Regions from separate parts of the Homo sapiens genome. Here all the other regions are linked to region 6. Evidence: promoter capture Hi-C in 16 types of primary human blood cells and fetal thymus (Javierre and others, 2016). All regions are on one chromosome and are shown on one strand. Each heading gives the region's core, a stretch centred on a gene start or on the middle of the fragment in contact. The rest is flanking DNA. Distances are from core to core; before and after follow the strand shown. Region 1 has its middle 2.0 kb from the start of PCGF1. Region 2 overlaps TPRKB (TP53RK binding protein). Region 3 has its middle 20 kb from the start of TPRKB. Region 4 overlaps LOC124907848 (a long non-coding RNA gene). Region 5 overlaps DUSP11 (dual specificity phosphatase 11). Region 6 holds the start of BOLA3 (bolA family member 3). Region 7 overlaps LOXL3 (lysyl oxidase like 3).

What was found. The method cuts DNA at HindIII sites, captures the fragments that hold promoters and counts their contacts. A CHiCAGO score of 5 or more calls a contact.
Region 1: a fragment that was not itself captured here is called in contact with the fragment with the promoter of BOLA3 in region 6 in 1 of 17 cell types (total CD8 T cells); the score reaches 5.3 in total CD8 T cells.
Region 2: a contact is called between a fragment that was not itself captured here and the fragment with the promoter of BOLA3 in region 6, in 6 of 17 cell types (erythroblasts, naive CD8 T cells, activated CD4 T cells and 3 more). The highest score is 8.2, in erythroblasts.
Region 3: a fragment that was not itself captured here is called in contact with the fragment with the promoter of BOLA3 in region 6 in 14 of 17 cell types (M2 macrophages, activated CD4 T cells, M1 macrophages and 11 more); the score reaches 10.2 in M2 macrophages.
Region 4: a fragment that was not itself captured here is called in contact with the fragment with the promoter of BOLA3 in region 6 in 3 of 17 cell types (M2 macrophages, M1 macrophages and erythroblasts); the score reaches 6.4 in M2 macrophages.
Region 5: a fragment that was not itself captured here is called in contact with the fragment with the promoter of BOLA3 in region 6 in 17 of 17 cell types (naive CD8 T cells, erythroblasts, M2 macrophages and 14 more); the score reaches 18.1 in naive CD8 T cells.
Region 7: a fragment that was not itself captured here is called in contact with the fragment with the promoter of BOLA3 in region 6 in 1 of 17 cell types (naive CD8 T cells); the score reaches 5.2 in naive CD8 T cells.

What each region holds. Positions count from the first base shown.
Region 1 is chr2:74,507,898-74,511,521 of GRCh38, forward strand. No RefSeq gene overlaps it. Among named protein-coding and RNA genes, the nearest start is that of PCGF1, 2.0 kb to the left of the region's middle. RefSeq lists an enhancer at 548-607. The HindIII fragment of the contact is 467 bases long and covers 1,744-2,210 here.
Region 2 is chr2:73,731,700-73,735,209 of GRCh38, forward strand. It overlaps TPRKB (TP53RK binding protein), which reads right to left. Exons shown (of 5, transcript NM_016058.5): 2 at 2,730-2,892; 3 at 464-586. The coding sequence starts at 2,870. Among named protein-coding and RNA genes, the nearest start is that of TPRKB, 3.9 kb to the right of the region's middle. The HindIII fragment of the contact is 4,504 bases long and covers 1-3,510 here.
Region 3 is chr2:73,756,001-73,759,147 of GRCh38, forward strand. No RefSeq gene overlaps it. Among named protein-coding and RNA genes, the nearest start is that of TPRKB, 20 kb to the left of the region's middle. The HindIII fragment of the contact is 3,192 bases long and covers 206-3,147 here.
Region 4 is chr2:73,712,328-73,715,901 of GRCh38, forward strand. The region is part of intron 1 of LOC124907848 (a long non-coding RNA gene); the gene reads right to left. Among named protein-coding and RNA genes, the nearest start is that of TPRKB, 23 kb to the right of the region's middle. The HindIII fragment of the contact is 3,865 bases long and covers 56-3,574 here.
Region 5 is chr2:73,771,803-73,775,436 of GRCh38, forward strand. DUSP11 (dual specificity phosphatase 11) reads right to left here. Exons shown (of 9, transcript NM_003584.3): 3 at 3,111-3,242; 4 at 1,998-2,121. Among named protein-coding and RNA genes, the nearest start is that of DUSP11, 6.5 kb to the right of the region's middle. The HindIII fragment of the contact is 1,793 bases long and covers 1,224-3,016 here.
Region 6 is chr2:74,146,217-74,149,660 of GRCh38, forward strand. BOLA3 (bolA family member 3) reads right to left here and starts at 1,696. Exons shown (of 4, transcript NM_212552.3): 1 at 1,605-1,696. The coding sequence starts at 1,658. BOLA3-DT (BOLA3 divergent transcript) reads left to right here and starts at 1,765. Exons shown (of 3, transcript NR_045636.1): 1 at 1,765-2,007; 2 at 2,134-2,262; 3 at 2,482-3,444. RefSeq lists a silencer at 1,437-1,916 and an enhancer at 1,450-2,109. The HindIII fragment of the contact is 11,442 bases long and covers 1-3,444 here.
Region 7 is chr2:74,540,820-74,544,360 of GRCh38, forward strand. All of the region lies in intron 4 of LOXL3 (lysyl oxidase like 3), which reads right to left. Among named protein-coding and RNA genes, the nearest start is that of LOXL3, 11 kb to the right of the region's middle. The HindIII fragment of the contact is 5,114 bases long and covers 1-3,541 here.

The sequences.
Region 1 (3,624 bases), core at 727-3,226, 360 kb after region 6:
TCCTGTAGAAATCATCATAATAGGCCCTACGCGACCTCAAGACTAACTTTCGGAGCCTGCGAAAGACTGCCCCCTCCTACCCCCAAAGGCCTGGCAGTCTGTGCCCGCTACCCGCTCAGGGTCGTCGGTCTTCTGTGACGACGACCCTGCTGAAGAAGCCCCTCCTGGGTCCTCTCCTCGTAATGCCGCCCTGTCGGCGTCCGCGTAGCGGAGCTTCGTCCAGATGGCGGGTCTTCTCCCGGCTTCACGGAGGGAGTTTCTTGGGCTTTGCAGAGTCTCGGAGAGGGTGCCGGGGGATGGGGAGTGAGAGACCCCCAGGGACTTGGTAGTGATCTTATTCCCCCATTCTCCCCCCTGCTGCCGGGGATGGGGGGGGCAGGCCCTGGTTAATGATGATGATTTAATCATCGGCGCCTGCGGAGGCCTGGGACAGACTAATGCAGAGCAGATGCCGAAGGAGGAGGGGAGGACGACTAGGACACTGCCACACACAGACAGGCTTAGGCAGCGAGCGCCTGTAGTAGCATAGGCCCAGTCCCGCACTTGGGGACTACGCGGGGTGCTCGCTCGAGAGCTCTACACCGCCGGCTCTGGGTACTTAAAAAGGGATAAATTTGCTATGAGGTATTAACATCAAATGCAACTGGAGATACGAGAAGGGAGAGATTCCAATGGAGACCTCAAAAAAGGCTTTCTGGAGAAAGTGGGACTTTGGGCACAATTTAGACTTGGGGGAGGGGGTGGAAGTGTGGTGAAATAGAAAGGACGTGGAGGGGAATGACCAGAGGACAGGAAGGTCAAGATGTAGATTTGAGAGTGGTAATAGAAAAAGCAGGGCCATAAAGAGTTGCGATTTTTAGCCTGAGGGCAATTGGGAGCTAGCGGACTTTTTTGAAGGGAGGTTATCCTGTGAAAGCGACATTTTTGTTCATTTCTCTTCAGAGTGAATTGAAGTGAATATGCAGCAAGAAGTTATGAGATTAGTGATTAATCAATTATTCGTTACAGCCCCTGTTTACCTACTTCCCTGGTCCGAGCCACTATCATCTGTCCTCTGTAGTGGCCTCTTGACTGTTTTCCTTGAGTCCCCCTTCGCCTGTTCTCAACATCACAGTTGAGTGCTGTTTCTCAGAGCTAGTGATTCTGATAAAACATGAAACACAAAGGACAAAGGACAATTTTTGAGATGTGGATATGTTTATTATTTTTATGGTGATGATGGTATCATGGGTATATACATATGTCAAAACTTATCAAATTGTACACTTCAAATATTTGCAGTTTATATGTCCATTATACTTCAAGAAAGCTATTAAAAATAAAGTTGAAAAATTAGGTTGTTCCTTTTTTACGTTTAAAACCTGTTGAGAGCTTCCCTTTTCAATCAGAATGAAAGTCAAAGTCTCAGAGTGGTGTGCAAGGGCCTGCATAGTCTCTTCAGATACACCAGGATATCCTTCCACTGTGTCCCCAACTTGAAATGCTTAGGTATCCAAAATGGCTCCCTCCTTCTTTCAGGTCTTTACTCATGAGGCTGCTGTAATCACTCTAGATGAATAACAACTCACCCACCCTTTCACTTCCTTGCTCTTTTTTTTCTGGTTAGCACTTATTAGCATTCTATCATTTATTATTATTTAATATACATTTCTAATATATATTATATTTTCTAGTTATTTTCAGAAAATATTTTCTAGAAAACATATTTCCTAGTTTTTCATCTGCCTTTTCCACTAGACTATAAGCTTCTCAGTGGCAAGGATTTTTTTTCCTCTGTTGTGTTCACAGATATAGCTCCAGTGCCAGGTGCATAGTTGGTGTTCAATAAAACTTTTCTGGATGAATACATGAATGAATCCAAGTGGTGGTGATGACAGCCTCGATTAGGGTTTTAGCAATGGCAATGGAAAGGAAGGGCTGTATCTGAAACAGTTCAAAGGAAAGTATAATAGGAGGAAGTAGCCAGGAACCTGGCTTGGTAGGCCTGGGTAAGAGGGTGAATGAAGAGCTTTGGAGGGAAGCATGTCCTCCAGCCTGCTGGACTTAAGGTGGCTGCAGGGAAGCAGGGGGAGCTTGTCAGAAGGCTAGGAGAGTGAGCGGTGGGGCTGGAGTGTCAGAACAAGGGATGGAGGTCTCAGAGTTATCTGGCTGGATATGAGAGTTGGGACTTTTGGAATGGGTGAAACTTGAGCAGATGAAGAGATAAAGAAAGCTTAAGGCCTGGTGCAGTGGCTAATGCCTGTAATTCCAGCACTTTGGGAGGCTGAGGCAGGTGGATACTTGAGCCCAGGAGTTGGAGACCAGCCTGGGCAACATGGTGGGACTCCGTCACTACAAAAAGTACAAAAATTAGCCTGGCATGGTGGCGCATACCTGTAGTCCCAGCTACTTGGGAGGCTGAGTTAGGAAGATTGCTCGAGCCTGGGAGGTTGAGGCAGCAGTGAACCGTGATAATGCTACTGCACTCCAGCCTGAGCGACAGAGTGAGATCCCATGTCTTAAAAAAAAAAAAAAAAGAAAAGAAAAAAGAAAGCTTAAGTCTGAGCTCTGAAGAATCCTCACAGTCTTCAGTGGAAGAAGGAAAATCAGTGGAGGAAAAACATAAGCAGTGACTACGAAAGTCCAAAGATGTGGAATAAGATATTACAGAAGCAAAAAGAAGGGACACTTCAAAAAATAATTGATGACCAACAAAGTAAAACATGCCAGGGAAGTCCTGGAGGAGGGATACTGAACACTGGAGCTCTCTGAGAAAGGGTTACTATAATGAAGGCAGCTTGCACTGAGTTAAAACAAGAATAAATCATGATGAAATGGAGGCAGTAGGCATGAAGTAAAAAGGAAAGGAAAAGCATGATCTCTCTTGAAGACTCAGGCAAAGATTTTGTCCAGATGATAAAGATCTGAGACAGCTGAGGGGTAGGAAAGACTAAGTTGATGAGAGCCACGGACACACAGGACATGGTGAGACAGATCCAAAGCAGTGTGTATGAGGGGGCACTCATTCCAGCACCTCTATCTTCGTCTTTTTTTTTTTTTTTTTTTTTTGAGATGGAGTCTCGCTTTGTCACCCAGGCTAGAGTGCAGTGGCGCGATCTCGGCTCACTGCCAGCTCCGCCTCCCGGGTTCACGCCATTCTCCTGCCTCAGCATCCCGAGTAGCTGGGACTACGGGTGCCCGCCACCAAGCCCGGCTAATTTTTTGTAGTTTTAGTAGACACGGGGTTTCACCGTGTCAGCCAGGATGGTCTCAATCTGCTGACCTCGTGATCCACCCACCTAGGCCTCCCAAAGTGCTAGGATTACAGGCATGAGCCACCGCGCCTAGCCAATCTTGAATATAAACCAGCAGGAACCATCCTTTCCCCGTGAATCAGAGACAAGGAGGCAAGAAAGGACATTTCAAGCCAGGTTGGGGTGGTGGTGCACACCTGTAACTCTAGATACTCAGGGGGTCAAAGTGGGAGGATTGTCTGAGCCCAGGAGTTTGAGGCCAGCCAGCCAGCCTGGGCATCATAGCGAGACTCTGTCTCTTAAAAAAAGAGAAAGTCCTAGGACTGTGGTCTGGGTGACGTAACTGGATGCCATCTGTTCTTGAAGTGGGGCACTAAAATATTTTAAAAAC
Region 2 (3,510 bases), core at 403-2,902, 410 kb before region 6:
CTCTACCTATGTACTGGGTGTGTGAGTGAGGCTGTGTTAAGGACTGTTATAGGTACAAGCAAGTTCCTGGTATATGAAAAAGACATGGATCCCACCCTCAAGGAGTTTACGGGAAGAGAGAATGATATGCAGGCTAGCACACAAAATATCCACGCCTAATGTTTTATCATTTAGATTTCTGTCAGCTTCTCAAGCAAAAATACTTGAGGGGTCTTCCTGACCCTATATGGTAAGAACAGATAAAATTAACCTCGCTTAATTTAGCTAAATTTTTGTTTACTCATATGTAAACTGTCTTAGTAAGAGGCAGGGTTAAACCTCAACTCTCTGTCCAGAGCTCTCTTCACTATTATTTGGGTTTATTACTAACCACTGGCTTGCAGGAATTTAGCCTCCAACCCAACACTGAGGAACACATATGTTATTATGACACGGTCAACAGAAATAGGAAAGTGCACATTACATTGTTATTTGGGGAAAGGTTGAAAATAATTTCAGTAGATAGAGTTCTTGTCTTCATTTTTCCCAGTTTGTAGAGGTGAACTGCTTTGTTTGCTGCCACAAGTATCTGAAATGGATCAACAATCTACCAAAGCAAGGAAAAAGAATTAATTACACATGGAGAATCTGCAGTGCCTGAAAACACATGGTAACTCATGGTTAACTCCAGTGTCAAGCTGTTTTACTTCATCACAATTCTTACGGTCTGTATTTTCAAAACTATTATCCCGGCTGGGCACGGTGGCTCACACCTGTAATCCTAGCACTTTGGGAGGCCAAGGTGGGTAGATCACCTGACGTCAGGGTTCAAGACCAGCCTGGCCAACACGGCGAAACCCTCTCTACTAAAAATACAAAAATTAGTCAGGCGTGGTGGCACGCACCTGTAATCCCAGCAACTCAGGAGGCTGAGGCAGGACAATTGCTTGAACCCGGGAGGCAGAGGTTGCCGTGAGCCAAGATCGCGCCATTGCACTCCAGCCTGGGCAACAAGAGTGAAACTGTCTCAAAAAAAAAAAAAACAAAAAACAACTATTATCCCAAGGGCCTGGGTAGTCAGGAAATCACAGAATTTTAAAGCTGCAAGGAACTTATGCAAATAGTAAAATTTTTTTAAATAACATTAATTGAGGGCTAATATTATGGGCATGATCATATTGCAAACATTTTACTTGTAATATTTTCTTTAATCCTCAAAACTACCCTATGAAATTGACACTATTATTAGTAGTAGTAGCAGTAGTAGTAGTATGTAATTGATGAGGAAATTGAGGCAAAGAATGTCTGGGTTTGAATCCCATCTCTGTCACCTATCACCTAGGAAACTTATGCAAGTTCATTAGCATTTTATTTGTTAGAGACCGATGAAACAGTATTCACTCCATAGGCTGTTGTGAAGATTAAGCAAGTTAGTATACGTAAAGCACTTGGAACAATGCTAGGAATGCAGTAAGCACTATATAAAGGTTGGTTATGTCTTGTTCAAAGGCCTAAGTAGTAGGTCTGGGATTAATTCCCGGTAACATGATCGCACTGCGTGTGCCCTGTTTTTTTGTTTTTTTTTTTTTTTGGAGACAGACAGAGTCTCTCGCTCCATTGCCCAGGCTGGAATGCAGTGGCTCAATCTCAATTCACTGTAACCTCCGCCTCCCAGGTTCAAATGATTCTTGTGCCTCAGCCTCCCGAGTAGCTGGGACTACCAGCACACACCACCACACCCAGCTACTTTTTGTATTTTTAGTAGAGACACGGTTTCACTATGTAGGCCAGGCTGGTCTCAAACTCCGGGCCTCAAGCAATCCACCCACCTTGGCCTCTGTGTGTACTCTTAACCACTACACTATTCCTCCTCTACAGACTGTCTTGTTAGGAACCCCCATTTTAAAGATGAGAAGCTGGAGATCCAGGCATTTCCCATATTAGACCCAGACCACAACCTTTCCTATTTCCTAGGGCAGGACCTGGCACTTCTGCCTCTATTCACTGTTATAGTCAAAGTTGGCTGCATCTGACTTGGACAAGAATTTTTTCCCTAACCGTGACAGATTTTTAGGCTACCCTATAACATCACAAATATTAATGTATACTTAAATGCCCTGTATGGCTCATTCATTCTTTTTTTTTTTTTTTTTTTTTGAGGCGGATTCTTGGTCTGTTGCCCAGGCTGGAGTGCAGTGGCACAATCTCGGCTCACTGCAACCTCTGCCTCCCAGGCTCAAGCGATTCTCCTGCCTCAGTCTCCTGAGTACAGGTGCCCACCACCATGCTCAGCTAATTTTTGTATTTTTAGTAGAGACAGGGTTTCACCATATTGGCCAGGCTGGTCTCAAACTCCTGACCTCATGATCTGCCTGCCTCGGCCTCCCAAAGGGCTGGGATTACAGGCGTGAGCTACCATGCCTGGCCATTTTTTTTTTCCAGACAGAGTTTTGCTCGTCGCCCAGGCTGGAGTGCAATGGCGCAATCTTGGCTCACTGCAACCTCTGCCTCCAGGGTTCAAATGATTTTCCTGCCTCAGCCTCCCGAGTAGCTGGGATTATAGGCGCCCGCCACCACGCCCAGCTAATTTTTGTATTTTTAGTTGAGACAGGGTTTCACCATGTTGGCCAGGCTGGTCTTCAACTCCTGACCTCAGATGATCCACCCGCCTCGGCCTCCTAAAGTGCTGGCATTACAGGCGTGAGCCACCGCACCCAGCAGGCTCATTCATTCTTAAAATTTATATTTACCACTGTAGGATTTATCAGTGATCCATCGATGGTGCCTTCCATGGCCTTTCTTCTCAAGTCTCCCGCATTTTTTACATCTTTAAATAACAGAAGGGTTACCCTGCATTCGGGAAATAGGTCCAGCTGATGTGTTAACTGCATTTCACAGATAAGCAGGATTCTACTGCACACAAAATGAAAAGACCAAAAGATTTCATTTAAAAGTTAACATCAGAACTCATTTCTTAATAAATATTCAAAAACTTTGAAAGTAACTTGATAAAAGTGTTAAACTAGAAAAATCCATCGCCAAAGCCCATTTGGCATCCTCATGAGATGTTGTCTTCCTAACCCTTCTGAGTTGTTCTGTTGTCATCCCCAGGGAAACGCCAAGGGGCCCAGCTGGTTGCTGTTTGTTCAGATGAGGCAGGCTCAGGTGCATGGTTGAAGGGCTGCTTCCCCAGCAGACAAGTAGGAGCAGAATGTCAGGAATTTTTTAAACCAGAGGTTGCTTACGGTATTAATGAAGTCTTACTCTATCTTAGTCTTTTTAACTTCCTGATCTCATCATTTTATTTATATTTTAGGAAGGCCTAGACATAAATATTAAGGAAGAAAATAATTTTAAAGAATAAAGTAGGCTGGGTGCAGTGGCTCATGCCTGTAATCTCAGCACTCTGGGAGGCCGAGGCGAGCAGATCACCTGAGGTTGGGAGTTCGAGACCAGCCTGACCAACATGGAGAAACCCCGTCTCTACTAAAAATGCCAAAAAAATTAGCCAGGCATGGTGGCGCATGCCTG
Region 3 (3,147 bases), core at 552-3,051, 390 kb before region 6:
GTTGCAGTGAGCTGAGATCGTGTCACTGCACTCCAGCCTAAGTGACAAGAACAAAACTCCATGTCAAAAAAAATAAATAAGTAAATAAAATAAAGTCAAAGAAAAGTTAAAGACTGCCTCTTTGCTGGGCCTTCCAGATTTAAGAAAGCCCTCTAATTTAGTTGTGCACAAAAAACAAGCCATGGGCTTGGGTGTCCTAACTCAAAGCTTGGGAACTGACTGAAGACTGATTGCCTATTTCTCTGAACAGTTTGACCAGGTGGTGAGGGTTGGTCCCCCTGCCTCCGAGCAGTGGCTGCAACTTGCAACCTCTTCTAGGAGGCTGAAAAGCTAACTCTAGCTCAGCTCATCACTGTCCACACACTGCATCACATCTCCTGTCTCTTAGATCAAAAAGGTGGATACTGGCTGACCTCTGAGAGGTTGGGAAAATACCAAGCCATCCACCCTCCTTGACAATCCAGAGGTGAAGTTAAAGGTGTTCTCGGTTCTTAACTCTGCTACCTTAATACCTCCAGAGAAGGAGCCAGGGCCCATACAAAATTGCCTTCCAATTAATGAGCAGGTCTTTCCAAGGCAACCAGACCTGGCAGATCAGCCCCTGCTGTGCTCCAAACTAGGACTGTTCACAGATGCAAGCAGCTTCATGGACCATGGACATCATCATGCTGAATTTGAGGTCATTACCTTACAAGGAATTAAGGAAGCCAAAGCCTTATTGCTAGGCACCTCAGCTCAGTGGGCCAAGGTGCCCTTATGCATGCCCTCCAATTGGGTAAGAAAAAAAATTATGAATATTTACATAGACTCCCAATATGATTTCTTGGTGGCACATGCCCACAGAGCTATGTAGAGAGAGGTCTTTTGACTAGCAAAAATAAAGAAATCAAATATACTTCTGATATTTTGGCCTTATTAGAATCTGTAAAAGGCCAGGCATGGTGGCTCATGCCTATAATCCCAGCACTTTGGGAGGCTGAGGCGGGTGAATCACCTAAGGTCAGGAGTTCAAGACCAGCCTGGCCAACATGGTGAAACCTCGTCTCTACTAAAAAATATAAAAATTAGCCAGGCACGGTGACACATGCCTGTAGTCCCAGCTACTTGGGAGGCTGAGGCAGGAGAATCACTTGAACCCGGGAGGCAGAAGTTGCAGTGAGCCGAGATTGTGCCACTGCACCCTAGCCTGAGCAACAGAGTGAGACTCTATCTAAAAAAAAAAAAAAAAAAAAAAAAAAAAAAAAAAAAATCAGTAAATGCCCCCTCTAATAGTGGCTATCATCCACTGTCCCAGCCATCAAAAAGGAGACTCCCGAATAGTCAAAGGAAATTAGCTTGCCGACCTGGCAGCCAAGCAAGCCACAAAAACATTGGACTCTGAGGCTTTCTTAGCCCCACTAATACCTCACAATGATCTGACCAAGTTCCAACCTTGCTATACCAAAGGAGATTTAAAGTGAGCCAAGGAATGGGGATTCACATCCCAGCCCTGGCCCATCCAGGCTGGAAATGTAATCTGGAAGGTATCGTATTGGTTCCCAGTGCCCTCCTTAAAGATATAGTGAGCTAGTTTCATCAAAGCATCCATTACAGAAAAGATGCAACCCTTCAATGGCATGTGAGTTCTTGATTGACCCCGACATGCAATGGGGTCATTCAAAATGTGATCTATCAATGCATGCTTTGTGCCCAAACTGCCCTAAAACTGACCCCACCCCTGTTCAAGGGTACAACATTGAGGAGACTCTCCATGCAAGGACTGGCAAGTTAATTTCACCACAATGCCACGGGTGCCTGGAGGCTACAGGGCATCTTTTTGTACAAAAAACATCTTTTTGTTTTTTGTAGACACATTTACAGGATGGGTAGAGGCATACCCTATCCGAACAGAAAGGGAGCTGAAGTGGCCCACACTATACTAAAGAGATAATTCCCCAGTATGAACTCCCTTTGACGATTCAGAGTGACCATGGTGCGGTGTTCATCTCTCAGGTAGTACAGGAAGTGTCTCAAGTCCTAGACATTGAATGGAAACTTCATGCAGCACAGCCACAGCCCACCGGAAAGACTAAAAAACTGAATCAAACTATTTAAAGAACAATTAGGCCAGGTGTGGTGGCTTATACCTGTAATCCCAGCACTTTGGGAGGCCAAGGCAGGTGGATTATTTGAGCCCAGGAGTTTGAGACCAGCCTGGCCAACATGGCAAACCCCATCTCTACTAAAAATACAAAAAAATTAGCTGGACGTGGAGGCGCATGCCCTTAGTCCCAGCTGCTTGGGAGGCTGAGGCACACGAATTGCTTGAAGCCGGGAGGTAGAGATTGCAGTGAGCCGTGATCATGCCACTCCACTCCAGCCTGGGCGACAGAGTGAGACTGTCTCAAAAACAAAAAAAACAAAAAAACAAAAAAAAAAAACTGCTGCTAAAGTGTGCCAGGAAACTAATCTAACTTGGGACAAAGTACTACCTTCTCTCCTGCTGAGGATTTGGGTCATTCCCTGAAACAGGCTCTAGTTGAGCCCTTTAGAAATTATGTATGAGAGACCCTTCCTAGCCACATTGGGGCTAGATCAGGCTATAAAATCTTAGAAAGGGAAGGAGCTATTAGACATTATTTAAAATTGCTAAATGAAATACCGACTTCTGTTCATGAGTTTGCTTCTTCCCCATGGACAGGCCACCTCACCCTTTCTAGGCTAGAGACCAAGTTCTACTTAAAACCTGGAGGGAGACTGGACTGAATCACCAACTAGCCCCTCAAAGGGTAAGACCCTATGAGGTCCTTCTGACCACGCATTCATCAATTGGGCAGGAGTTAAACCGTGGGTACATTATACCTGGATAAAAATTGCCCCCGCCTCAGCCCGACCTATCAGGTTAATAGACCTGAAAGGACATGTGAACCAACTAAAAACCTGAAGCTGCTTTTGAAGAAAACATCCACAGATAAGTAAAGCCTTCTTGCTAAGCACCACAGTACTATATGGCTTACGGTGTCTGCTGAAACCAATCTTTTCCTACAATGGGCACATTATGCAGATAGCCTACAGAAGCTCGTAGGGTTTGAGGGCTGTTACCTATCTCTAGCATGTTGGTATTACCTTGGTCGGTCTTGCTCTTACAAGGAAACAACTGAGTACAGT
Region 4 (3,574 bases), core at 738-3,237, 430 kb before region 6:
TTCCCTCTTTGATGGTTCTTTTTCAAGCTTTCATTTTGAGTGTTCCTCAAATGGAAGCTTTCCTCAAAACAGAAAAGTTCATGTTTCCTTCCTAATAATTAATAGGAAAAAAATGCCAAATGGATAGAATGGACTCTGGATAAGAATGGAGAATTTTTAAAGAAGAAGCAAATATGGTTTATGAATATATTTTAAAAGTGTACAAAAAAGAATATACAAAAACTCACTAGAAATCAAATAAAAATCAAAATACTATCTAGGTTTTACCTATCATTATGGTAAAGAATTAAAAGAATGGTATGAGCTAATGTAGGACAAGCACAAAGAAATGTGCAGACACACACACTTTTGATGGAATACTGAAATGGGAGATCCTTGCTGGAGAATCATTACACAGCATGTCAAAATCCTTTTTTTAAATCAAAATAGAGTCTCACCCCATTGCTCAGGCCAGAGTGCAGTGGCAAGGTCATAACTCACTGTAACCTCAAACTTACAGGTTCAAGTGATCCTCTGCCCTTGTCCTCCCAAGCAGCTGGGACTACAGGCACCCACCACCACAACTGGCTAATTAAAAAAAAGGTTTTTTTTAGAGACGGGGTCTTGCTATATTGACCAGGCTGGTCCCTAATCCTTGGGCTTAAGCAGTCTTCCCACACACTGAGATTACAGGAGTGAGCCACCCTGCTCGACCTCAAAATCCTTTGAAAAGACTTGATCCAAATTCAACTTCTAGGGTTAGAGCTCAAGAAAGTAACTGGTCAAATGTGCAAAGATGTTTGTATAAGGATGTTTATCACTGTAAAGTTTATTGACACAGAAGCAACCTAAAGTGCAACAAGAGGGGACTGGCTGAATAAATCCTGCTCTATTTCTGTAGCACAGTACCTCACAGCCATGACCAATGCTGATGAGGGTTTACTGACATGAAAAACATTGCCCAACTATAGCAACAAGCAAGAAAAGATTATAAAACAATATGTTTGGATTTATTTTTGGAAAAATGGTATTGAAAAATGATATCCACAAACAAGCATGCAGAGAGAAAAGTCTGAGTGGTTCCACCAAATGTTGGTAGCAGTTACCTCTGAAAAGAGGAATTGTGGGGGATTCTCTGCATAAAAGATAAACTCTGAAGGTCTTTGCACATTCTAGGCACTTGGCCCTGCTTTCAGACAGTGAAACTGAATCTTGGAAGTCTAAAGGGACTCAGGGACTCAAGTGTGATTGTGAGCTCCTAAAGGTAAGACCCGCGTCCGGTTTTATTATTTCAATTAATCCAATTAATGTGCACAATTCAGTGGCATTTAGTACATTCACAATGTTGTGCAACGACCACCCCTTTCTGGTTCCGAATCATTTTTATCACTGCAAAAGGAAATTCCTTGTTTATTAAGTGGTTCCCCCTTATTTCCCTCTCTCCCCAATCCCTGGCAACCTAATCTGCTTTCTGTCTCTATGGATTTATTTATCGTGGATGTTTCATATAAATGGAATTGTACAATATCTGACCTTTTATGTGTGGCTTCTTTCAGTTAATGTTTTCAGAATTCATTCGTGTTGCATCATGCATCAGTATTTCATTCCTTTTTAGGGCTCAAAATTCCATGTATGTTTATACCGCACTTTGTTTATCCATTCATTCATTGATGGACATTAAGGTTGTTTCTATCTTTTGGTTATTGTGAATGATGCTGCTGTGAACATTCACATACAAGCAGTTATTTGAATACCTATTATCAATTCTTTCAATGTATACCTAGGAGCGAAATTACTGGTTCATATTTTAATCCTGTTTTTGTTTTTTATTTTTGTTTTTTTTGTTTTTTTTTTTTTTGGTGGAGATGGGGATCTCACTATGTTACCCAGGCTGGTATCAAACTCCTGGGCTCAAGTGATCCTCCAGCCTGGGTCTCCAGAAGTCCTGAGATTACACGTCTGAAAGATGCTGTGCCCAGCCAGTAATATGTTTTAGAATCAGGAAGTGTGAGTCCTCCAACATTGTTGTAGTGTGAGTCCTCCAACATTGTTGTTCTCTTTCAAAATTGTTTTGGCTATCCAGGATATCTTATGATTTTTACAGATTTATTGCCATTTCCAATCTTTTTTTATTACTATGTAATATATGTTTCTTTTTTTCTTTTCTTTTTTTTTTTTTTTTTTTGGAGACTGAGTCTCGCTCTGTCACCCAGGCTGGAGTGCAGTGGCACGATCTTGACTCACTGCAACCTCCACCTCCCAGGTTCAAGCGATTCTCTTGCCTCAGCCTCCTGAGCAGCTGGGATTACAGGTGCCCGCCACCATGCCTGGCTAATTTTTGTATTTTTAGTAGAGATGGGGTTTCACCATGTTGGTCAGGCTGGTCTCGAACTCCTGACCTCATGATCTGCCTGCCTCAGCCTCCCAAAGTGCTGGGATTACAGGTGTGAGCCACCGCGCCCAGCCATAATGTATGCTTCTTTGAGCTGTTTTTCTGATAACTTAGTAGCCATGTAATCTAATTAACTGATATGCTTCAACCACTTTCTCAATCTATCACTCTCAGACACGAAACAGTATCTATTGACTCTATCATATGAAAAATTAACATCCCCATCAGAGTTGTTCCAAGCCCCACGAATACAGCCAGGATTTTTTTGTCTTATCATCTTGCAAGAGCTCAGGTCCTATCCAACTACAACAATTACAGATACATGGCAGCATGTTCACATTGTCTCAGGCTTCCCCCAACTACATCTGAACAGTTTGAATTGGATTAAAAAGGGCTCCTGGAGACTTGTAGGCTTGCTTATCCTGTGGGTAACTGACATTGGTTGCAGTAATGATACCAAGGTTTCTTTTCTTTTTCCAGGTAGGAAAACATGTGATTTGCTCTATTTCATCGTCTACCAGTAGTTTCTTGTGCTCAAAGTCTGCACTTTGCAACAAGCACAAATTAAATAAGAGCATACATGCAAAACAATTACTTAAATTCAAACTTTTCCATTGAAATACAAATGGCTCTTAAATATGTAAGATACGCAACCTCTCTCAAATGAAGATTAAAACTGTATCCAACTGCCTTTTTTCACCAGATTATCAAAAATTCAAATTTGATGGCAAGAGTGTAGGGAAATAGAGTCCCTTATATATTCTTGTGGGAGTAGAAGTTGGTTCATTGTGAAAGGTAATTTAACAGTTCCTATCTAAATTACTTTCGCCCAGAATTTTATTTTTATTTTTGAAACAGGGTCTCACTCTGTCACCAAGGCTGGAGTGCAGTGGCATGATCTTAGCTCACTGCAGCCTCCGTCTCCCAGGCTCAAGTGATCCTCCCACCTCAGCCTCCTGAGTAGCTGGGAGTACAGGCATGTGCCACCACCCGGCTAATTTTTGTATTTTTTGGTAGAGACGAGGTTTCACCATATTGCACAGGCTAGTCTCGAACTCCTGAGCTCAAGTGATCTGCCTGCCTCGGCCTCCCAAAGTGCTGGGATTACAGGTGTGAGCCACTGCACCCAGCTCACCCAGCATTTTTACTTTTGGAATTTATGATATACTGTGCACATGTGGAATTTAAGCTATAGATACTTGC
Region 5 (3,634 bases), core at 870-3,369, 370 kb before region 6:
TTTTGTTCTATAATTAACCCACATCTTTTTTTTTTTGAGACAGGGTCTTGCTCTGTCCCCCAGGCTGGAGTGCAGTGGCGCCATCTCCGCTCACTGAAAGCTCCGCCTCCCGGGTTCACGCCATTCTCCTGCCTCAGCCCCCCGAGTAGCTTGGACTACAGATGCCTGCCACCACGCCTGGCTAATTTTTTGTATTTTTAGTAGAGATGGGGTTTCACCGTGTTAGCCAGGATGGTCTCGATCTCCTGACCTCGTGATCCGCCCACCTCGGCCTCCCAAAGTGCTGGGATTACAGGCATGAGCCACCGCGCCCAGCCTAACCCACATCTTAAACCACATGCACTACATATTTATTTTCCTAGATAACTGTGAACTGCTATAACAAAAAACAAAGACTGCTATCATCTCTGTGTCTTCATGCTCTAACAACAAATCTAAAAGGATCTCAGTGTTTACTGAATCAATTTATTTTCTCAGTCCCTACTAGTTCTAGAAGCGAGTGGAGAGTGTAGTGTCCTCTTTTTATCAGTGAGCCTGTTATCTGTGGGAAGGGATTATAGCAGAGGTAGCCAAAACTGATTATAAACAAGGTCCCAAGCCTGCTATGGCAGTGAGTACTGCAAGACTTAGACAGTCAGCACCACTCAGGCAGAAGACCAACATGGAGTTCAGTCTATCCAACTGACTACAATCAGTATAACGTGAACAACTAAGATTTAAAAATGTGTTCTCATGTATTCATAAGGACCTCCTAGCCCTCACAGAACAGATGAAGTGCTATATAAAAATTTCACAGAAAAGAGCCTGGAAGCAGTGAATAGGCCATCAGCTGTACCCTCATATCTTAAAAGGTAGTATTTCTGTGACAACAGCTTATACAAATGGGAAAGCCAAACCTCTCAAGTTTTAAAGTTAAAGTACAGGGGAAGATCTGTGAACAAGGTTTAACATAATTAAAAGCTAGTGTCCACATTAAGTGAGCGACTAGGTTACAATTTGAAATTTTATCTTCAAACCCACTGATCCAGTCTCTATCTCTCACCTTCCATTCCCTATCTTCCCACCTCTGTCTCTATTCTTTCTCCACTACTCCATCACATTTTTTAAAAAGGAGTATTTACTGTCAGATTTATGTAACAAAGTGTACACTCCTCAAGCTAAATTTGGAAAGAAGGCAAATGAAGCCTCTGTCCTGTGGGTGTCAGTGGCTTTCCAAAGATAAAAGCTTCTTCAGTCTTAAAATATGACAAATATCATGTTCTTTCTGGCAGAGAGATGCCAGAAAAAGGCAACTGGATCCTTAAGATAAAGAAGCTGTTAAGTTCTATTTTCAAAAGAGTAAGGTAAATCTTAAAGCAGGAACAAGAAAGCACCAGCCTTTGGCTTAAGTTCTCCCATGTGAAGAATAAGAGGTGGTGGTATCCTTCCCCATCTGTACTCAAAGCGGAAAAACAGCAGAAATATCTTTTTTTTAATTATACTTTAAGTTTTAGGGTACATGTGCACAACGTGCAGGTTTGTTACATATGTATACATGTGTCTTAAATACATATGACAAAGGGGCAATTCCACTGGTGCACTCTTTCTTGTTTTGCTTCTAGGGGTCCGTCCCATTCTTAATCTTTGCCCTTTCTTGTCTCTTTCACATAACTCTAAGACTCAGAGTTTTTTAATCTTTTCTTCTACTTCTCACTTCTTAACCAATATAGAAGACAAAAATAACATTTTAATTTTATATATTTCTCATTCAAATTAAAAAAGAAAGATGAGCCAGTTCAGTTCATATTTTGCACTAAAACTAATTTAACATTCCAAAGTTAAATTATTTGTGATCAACAAAAGGAAAAACATCTTACCCTATTAGCACCATCTGACATTTTCATCACCTTAGCATCATTAAATACAACAGGTCTGAGGTTGGAACTATAAAAAAATACCAAAAATCCCCAACCCCATTCATAATGCACACCACAGTTCAGGTAAGAACAAAAACTCACCATTATCTTTATTTTCTTTCAAAAACCCATTAACAGCGTGTTTGAATTTAAAAATAGTCTCATCATCAGGCACTTGATGTCCAACTGTAAAAATTTTTAAGTAAGGAACAGTTTCTGGCAAATCCTATAAAGCAAAACCATAAAAGATGTGTATTATTTCACTTGTAGAGAAATAATTAAAGAGTAATTAGGGGACCCAGAATATAAGCCAAGAGATTATAACAAACTTAATATGCCAATATCAGTATACACAATTCTGATAAAAGAGCCATTTTTTCCAACACTGCTTCAACCAGGAAGTATCACTTGATTTTCAATAAAACTACATAATAGATAGTCACTAGGTATACAAAACTGAAAGCAAATTCCATGTGAATGAATGCATATTTAACTATAAATTATATAAACAGTTCCATTTAATATTTTATAATTCAAGGGCCAGTGCCTTCATAAAGCAGCTATGATTTAAGTAGAAGAGTAGAGAATAGAGTCAGAAGAACTTGGATTTGAATTGTGAGATAGAGGGAATTCCAGGCACTATTGAGAACCGATATTCTTGGGGTGGGAGAAAAGTAGATACAGATAAAAGACAGAAGAGGCTAAGTCAAAATCATTTTAACCATCCACAAGTGTATAGTTCAGTGGCATTACATTCACAGTATTGTGTAACCATCACCACTGTCTATACCCAAAACTTTTTCATCATCCCCGACAAAAAGACTCTGACCACTAAACCATAATTCCCTTTTCTCCCCACCTCATAGATCCTTTAGTCTGCTTTCTGTCTCTGTGAATTTGTCTATTCTAGGTACTTCATACAAGTGGAATCATATATTTGTCCTTCTGTGTCTGGTTTATTTCACTAAGCATGTTTTTAAGGTTCATCCATATTGTAGCACGTATTAAATCTATTCTTTTTTATGGCTGAATAATATTCCATTTAAGACAGCAATTAAAAACATGTAATTAGAGAAATCACTTGGTTCTCTTTTAAACTTACTACCCATCAAAGAAGGCCAAGCTTCACATTAGCACAAGATGATTACTGAATTACTATAAATTATTTTAGGATCAGAAGGAAGAAAGTTCTTTTCATTGAAGGGTTCCACTTACCTCTGGTTTATAATAGCGTTGAGTATATGTTAAATCAATAATCAGTCCAAGTTCTTCATTTTGTTCTCGGATTTTGTTAAAAAGATCCAAAGGGGAAAAGCATTCTTCTGGAGCAAGTTTCTTTTCAAAACTCTGTCACAGAGAATGAAATAAGAGCAAATATGTGCTTAAAATCCTGTACTACATTAGGCATTTATTCAAGTCCTGTGATGCTAACATACAACGAGATTCAAAGGAAAGTTTCCATTCTCCTGGAACATAGAAGGTATATTACAACAATCCTTTCTTCCAGAGTGGTCAGAAAGAAAAAAATAAGCCCACTTCTATATATGTATTTCTGTATTTGTTTCATGTTGGTCTCCTAATCAGACTGTAATCTCCCAGATTTTATTCACCACTGTATCTCCAGCTCCAGGTGGAGTGCTTATCATATTTAGTGCTTATAAATATTTCTTTTCTTTTTTTTTTTTTTTTTTTGAAACAGGGTGTTGCTCTGTCATCCGTCATCCAGGCTGGAGTGCAGT
Region 6 (3,444 bases), core at 446-2,945:
CCCTGACCTCAGGTGATCCACCCACCTCAACCTCCCAAAATTCTAGGATTACAGGCATGAGCCACCACGCCCGGCCAGGGGAGCCCATGTTTCTGATGGAACACGTCTCAACAGTTAGTAGTGAAGGAGCAGAAAAGCAGGTCGGCAGTCACTTGGCTGGGCTGAGTGCATGCTGAAAAGGCAGACTGGGAATGGAGTGTGGCAGGCCTTGAATGCCAGGCTAAAGATTGTGGACTGTATGGGACAGGAGATGGGACTCCAGGTGATAGAACCCAGGCTCATGGGACCAAAGTAACCTGCAGGAAACAGTGCCTTCTGGAGCGAGTCAGGAGAGATGCCCAAGTAAGAGGCATTACAATGATGGAAGCACCGGGCACTGGTCCCTGACTAGACGTGGATGACAGGTTGGAGGACACTAGGGCCGTTCATGGGTGCTGGTGCTGAAGGTCCCACCCCTCTACCCCTCAGTCCTTCCTGATAGCTCAGAGCAGGGTCCTGTGTCACAGAATCTCAGAGCACCTCCTTTAAAATGAGCTGTGCACTGGCTCTCTCACCACTGGTCTTATAGGCCAGGAATGAGTCCGGCAGCATCCCAGAGCTGACCCCAGGGCAGGCCCTCAGAGGCACTTGGTGCTGGATGAATGAATGAGCAGGGGAAGAACTAGTCAATTAGGGACAGAAATGCAAGACAGGAGAAAGGTCCAGAGTGTGATTGTCTGCCTGCTGTGTGGAGGGACAGAAACTCGATGTTGAGAGGCTGGACAGGATTGCCAGGAGTGAGGGTGGGGTGGAGCTGCTTCTGGGGGCAGAATCTTGAGGGTAAAGGCAGAGAGTAACCAGATGGCAGACAGAATCGGCAGCTACTAAGGGGTGAGAGAGGTGAGCGTTGCAGAATCCTTGGGAGAAGCCTTTCATCTTAGCGGATCTGTGGGCAGCGGCCTTTAGTGGAACAATCAACTGACATCCCCAGATGATCACTGTCCACGCTGAAAGTCACCGCAGTGGAAGAACTTCTCTTCATGCACAGGGCAGGCAGGTTCAGAACCAGGGGAGAAGGAAAATGAAAGTTAAGAGAAAGAATGGTATGAGCTGAAGCAAAGGATGGTTCAGAAAGGGGGAGAGATTAGGAGAGCGCGTGGGAAGTGCCCCCTGCTTGGGTTCTGCTCCGGTAGTGTGGGATTTGGAGGAGGATCAAGGTCAGAGGCCCAGTCGACCTTCCCAAGGCCCCGGCCCCGCTGCAGTCCCTCGCACCCACGCCTTGACTCTGGGCTATGACTCCTGTCTTCTGCTCGGTAAACCAATCCTTTTTTTTTCCTGTGCCCGCAGTATTATGACTGTTCATGTGTCTGTCCGCCTGACCTCCAACCTCCACCCAGCTCGGGAGCTCCCCTAGAGCGCGCCAGAGCTTGAAATTTCGAATGCCGTTGTCGCTGAGTGAATGAATGAATGAAAGAATGAATGAGAGAAAGGAAGAGGAGCCCCCCATTGCCAGTGCCGCGCGCGCCCTCCGGGAGCCAGTCCTCAAGCCCCGACAGCCGCCGGCCCCGCGGTCCCTCCGCAGCTCCCGTCCCGGGGAGAGCAGCCCCGACCCTGCCCACGCTCACCCCGCGGATCCCGCGGAGGAGAGGCGCTGCCGCGGCCGGGCTCCATGCAGCCATGCCCGGCCGACGTGACCCGCCGCCCGAGGTCACTGTATGCCCGAAAGACGCGGAGCGGGGGACCGAGAGCCGCCGCCGTGGGAGAGGCCGCCCCCTGCCGCCCGGAGGCCGTCAGCCTCCCGGCCCCGCCCCGGAGGCCTCCGGTCGCCTGGCTCCGGCCCCACCCCGCCATCCCCTGGCCCTGGCTGACTCGCCACCCCCGACACTGCAGCGCCTGCCGACCTCGGGGCCCCGCCCTCTGCCTTCGCTCGCGCCGCTCTCCTTCAGTCTCCCCAGGGCCTGTTTCATGGATAGGGTCCCCTTGCCCGCGTGAAAGTCTCATTCCTCCTCAGCTCAGAAACACTCCAAGGTCTCGGCGCCCTATACTGGCCTTCCCTCATCCGAATACCCCTCGTGCTCCTGATGTACTTTTCCATTCCCACTCCCTACTCTGGCAGTCTAGCTTCTAAGCTGAGGAGTTTGGCCTTCGCTCCAGGTGCGGGGACTCGTGGAAGGATTTGATTCGCGCTTGAGAAAGATCGCTCCGCTCCTGTAAGGAAGAGAGCGTGTAGGGGCTGCAACCAGAGACACAGTCAGAAGCTCCGAGGCTACCGCGATGGTCCAGGTGAGAATGGAGGGGCCTAACTAAACCAGTGGCGGGAGGGATGGAAGAATGAACTGAGACACTTGGGAGGTGAATGGAATCGAGCGACTGCATGTGGAGGTGTGAGTGGGAAGGTATCTGAGATGACTCCAGTTTCTGGCTTGGACAATGACTTGGATGGAGGGTTAGGTGGGGGCTGAGCAGAGTCCACGAACAGTTCTTAATTTGCCTGAGTTTAAGGTGCCACAGGACACAGCCTAACAGAGGCCCAGGTTGGAGCCATGGACCATGGAGTCATGAGAATGGAAGGGAAGCTGACGCCATGTGGGATGGGGTAGAACTGTCCGCAAATTCGTCCCGCCTCTGGAGTCTTCAGACCAGTCAAGGCCGAAATTCAACCAAGCCTCTCCTCTCTCTAGCTGTTATTTGTTTGCAGCACGCGGTCTGGTGGCACCCTGCAGGATTTACCAGCTTTTTGCCAACATTCTGGCCTATGCAATCAATACGTCCCTTCAGCGTTGCACTTGGATGGATTGGACCTATAGTTGTTATATATGGATATTGTCTAATTTATTTATTACAGTATTAACTGACTCCTATGTTCTGGCCTTCAGAATTTCTCCTTTGGATCAATTACTAGCCTGTCTTACATTTTCTGCTTCATTCTTTTAAAATGTTTAGAGATGATTTGCTAAGTTTTCTTCATTGCTGTCAATGATGCAATTTAAACTGTCAAAAAAATTTTTTCTCAAGCAGGGTAGTAATGGTGAACCATTCCCTTGCTATTCAGACAGCATGGTTTAGATGAGGCGCACCTATCCCCAGCTTTAGGAATGGAAACAGGACCCAAGTCTGGCTAATCAGAGACTGGTTTAGGGTCGGCCCCATGGTCTGAGCCAGACCAATGAGAATTGGTAGAGGGACTTCCTTTTGCAACTTCTATTTTAGAATCGGGGGTATATATGCAGGCTTGTTACAGAGGTATATTGCATGGTGCTGAGGTTTGGAGTATGAACGAATCCGTCCTTCAGGTAATGAGCATAGTACCCAATAGGTAGTTTCAACCCTTGCCCCCTTCCTCCTTCCCCAGTCTTGTATTCCCCAGTGTCTGTTGTTCCCAGACATTGATCTTTTTCCTCTATGTTGCTAAGCTGGTAGAAAGGCTGGAGTTGCTGGCAACCATCTTTGCAACCATGCAGGGAG
Region 7 (3,541 bases), core at 643-3,142, 390 kb after region 6:
TCATGACTGGCTAATATTTGTTAGAAGCAGGGTCTCACTATGTTGTCCAGGCTGGTCTCATCTCAAACTTCTGAGCCCAAGCTATCCTCCTGCCTTGGCCTCCCAAAGTGCTGGGATAACAGGCATGAGCCACTGAGCCCAGCCTTAGTTGTCCTTTCTTTGAACATGTTCCTGCTCCGCTGTTTCTCTTGAGGAGTCATATTTCAACATAGTACAGCTGGCCTTCCATATCCATGGGCTCTGCATCTGTAGATTCAACCTCCATCTGTACTGAACACGTACCAACTTTTTTTCTTGTCATTATTCCCTAAGCAATAAAATATAACAACTACTTATGTAGCATTTACATTATGTTAGGTATTATAAGTAATCTAGAGATGATTTAAAGCATACAGAGGATGTGCATAGGTTATATGCAAATACTATAGCATTTTATATCAGGGACTTGAGCATCTTTGAATTGTGGTATCCTTGGGAGATCCTAGAACCAATCCCCCATGGTTACTGAGGGATGACTGTTTAATGTGTGAAGACACCTTGGGATTTAAATATACGTATATATTTTAAACCAGTCAGAAGCTGTTTGATATTTTCTGCCTCAGCTTCTTCCTGAGGATGTACTTAGTTGGTCTCTTTGCCAAAGTGTCCAAAGTGTTGGACATTCCTGGCAAAGAATATACAACTCTCAGGTCCCTTTACTGAGACATTGCTAATAGTTAGACTCTTTCATCTTATAAATATGGTGTGAAATTTTTTCTCCAAATGTCTTTTTCTCAAACATGTCTAAAATGTCTAAAATGAAATACACTTGGCCTCTTCACCAATCAACCTGGAGAGTTCACCTTGATCTCCAGAGTAGTACTAAAACATTTTGGTATTATCTAGAAATTTAGAAGTACCTCTTCTCTAAATTATTTAAGGACCTTATATCAACAGGTCTTTGTATTATTTATATATATATATACACAAACATATGTAATCTTATTTCATATTTATATAAAAGAGTTTAGACCCTTTTATCTTATAAATATTTTATATATAAAATTATATATAAGTTATGTTAAGGACTTTGTCCTCATTGAGGACCAGTGCTGTTATTTGTCTTGATTTAAATTTCTTCATTCACAGATGTGTTTGTTTCCACCTACCATTTGTTCCTTCCTTCAGCCATCAAACATAAAAACCTATGTAGGCCAGGGGCAGCGGCTTACGCCTGTAATCCCAGCACTTTGGGAGGCTGAGGCAGGAGGACTGCTTGAGCCCAGAAGTTTGAGACCAGCCTGGGCAACACAGTGAGACCTCGTCTCTACAAAAAATTTAAAAATTAGCCGGGTGTGGTGGCTCGAGCCTGTAGTTCCAGCTACTCAGGAGGCTGAGATGGGATGATCGCTTGAGCCCAAGAGGTCGAGGTTGCAGTGAGCCATGATGGCGCCACTGCACTCTGGCCTGGTCAACATAGAGAGACCCTGTCTCAAAAACAAGGAATCAAACAAACAAACAAACAAACAAAGAAAAAACCCAAAACAAAAACCTGTCTACATTTGCATATCCTCTTCTCATACCTTTCAACTATTTTTCTTCTCTAAGTCTACTGTACCTAAATGTTTCTAAATTCCATCTCTTACAATTTTTCTCAGTCCTGCATACCATTTCTTTTTCTCAACTGAATCCTTTTAAACATTCAAATCACTCCTACACATGCACACACACACACACACACACACCCTCTACTTATCTCTCCTCCCCTTCACAGTAACATTTCTCAAGAGCTGTCCATACTTATCATCTTTATATCCTCTCTTCCTACTTTTTTTTTTTTTTTTTGAGACAGAGTCTCGATCTGTCACTCAGGCTGGAGTGCAGTGGTGCAATCTTGGCTCACTGCAACCTCCGCCTCCTGGGCTCAGCAATTCTCCTGCCTCAGCCTCCCAGGTAGCTGGGATTACAGGCACGCACCACCACAGCCAGCTAATTTTTGTATTTTTAGTAGAGACGGAGTTTCATCATGTTGGCCAGGCTGGTCTCAAACTCCTGATCTCAGGTGATTCACCTGCCTTGGCCTCCCAAAGTGCTGGGATTACAGGTGTGAGCCACCATGCCCAGCCTCCTCTTACTCATTTTTCAACCCACTTCCTCTGGTTTTCCCTACCTATCACTCTGCAAACTTCTATTTTGTTAAATCCAGCAGACATTTTTCAGTCTTCATCTTAATGACCTCTCTGCAACATCTGACTGTCCTCTCTTTCCTTGGCTGCTATAACACTACAATATCCTGGTTTTATTCCTAATTCTGCTTATTATTATTATTAATTTCCAGAGTGGCTCCCCAGGGAGCAGGGCTGACTCCTAGGCAGTGTGCCTAGAGCCGCCTACTCCTAATTCTGGTTGCTCTTTCTTGGTCTTCTCTGCAGGCTCCTCCCCTATCTGGTCATTAAAATTTGTGGAGCTCTTTCTTAGGCATTTTGTTCTCACTTCATATAGGGCCCTCTATATGGTCTAATTCACACCTAGTGTATTCATAATCTTGTCTATTTCATTGCCTTCTTGATGTTTCTAGGTAGAGATCTGAAAGTAATCTGAAATGTAATGTAGGTCCAAAAAAAAAAGATAATTATCTCAGTAAAATCCACTCCAGAAACCTAGGGGTCAATCCTGACTTCTCCCTTTCTTGGATCCCAAAGTCAATCAATAACCAAGTCCTGTCAATTTTACTTCTAAATATCTCTCCAATCCATATCTTTTGCTCCTCTCCTGATTATTCTCAGAAATAGAGTCAAAGGCGGGGCGTGGTGGCTCATAGCTGTAATCCCAGCACTTTGGGAGGCCAGGACAGGCAGATCACTTGATCTGATCCTGAGGTCAGGAGATCAAGACCAGCCTGGGCAACATGGAGAAACCCCATCTTTACTAAAAATACCCAAAAATCAGCAAATTAGCTGGGCATGGTGGCGCGTGCCCGTAATCCCAGCTACTCGAGAGGCTGAGGTAGGAGAATTGCTTGAACCCAGGAGGCGGAGGTTGCAGTGAACCAAGATTGCACCAGTACACTCCAGCCTGGGTGACAAAGCAAGGCTCTGTCTCAAAAAAAAAAAAAAAAAAAAAAAGAAAAGAAAAGAAAAAAAAGAAATAGATTCAAATGATCTTTTGGAGTCACAAACCTGATCATGCCATCTCATAGCCCTCCCCATTAAAACACTTCAATGGCCGGGCACGGTGGCTCAAGCCTGTAAGCCCAGCACTTTGGGAGGCCGAGGTAGGCGGATCACCTGAGGTCAGGAGTTCAAGACCAGCCTGGCGAGCATGGTGAAACCTCGTCTCTACTAAAAATACAAAAATTAGCTGGGCGTGGTGGGCACCTGTAGACCTAGCCACTCAGGAGGCTGAAGCAGAAGAATCACTTGAACCCAGGGAGGTGGAGGTTGCAGTGAGCAGAGATTGTGCCACTGCACTCCAGCCTGGGCAACAAGCCAGACTCCCTCTCAAAAAAACAAACAAACAAAACAAACAAACAAACAATCCAAACATCAAAGGCTTCCCAATC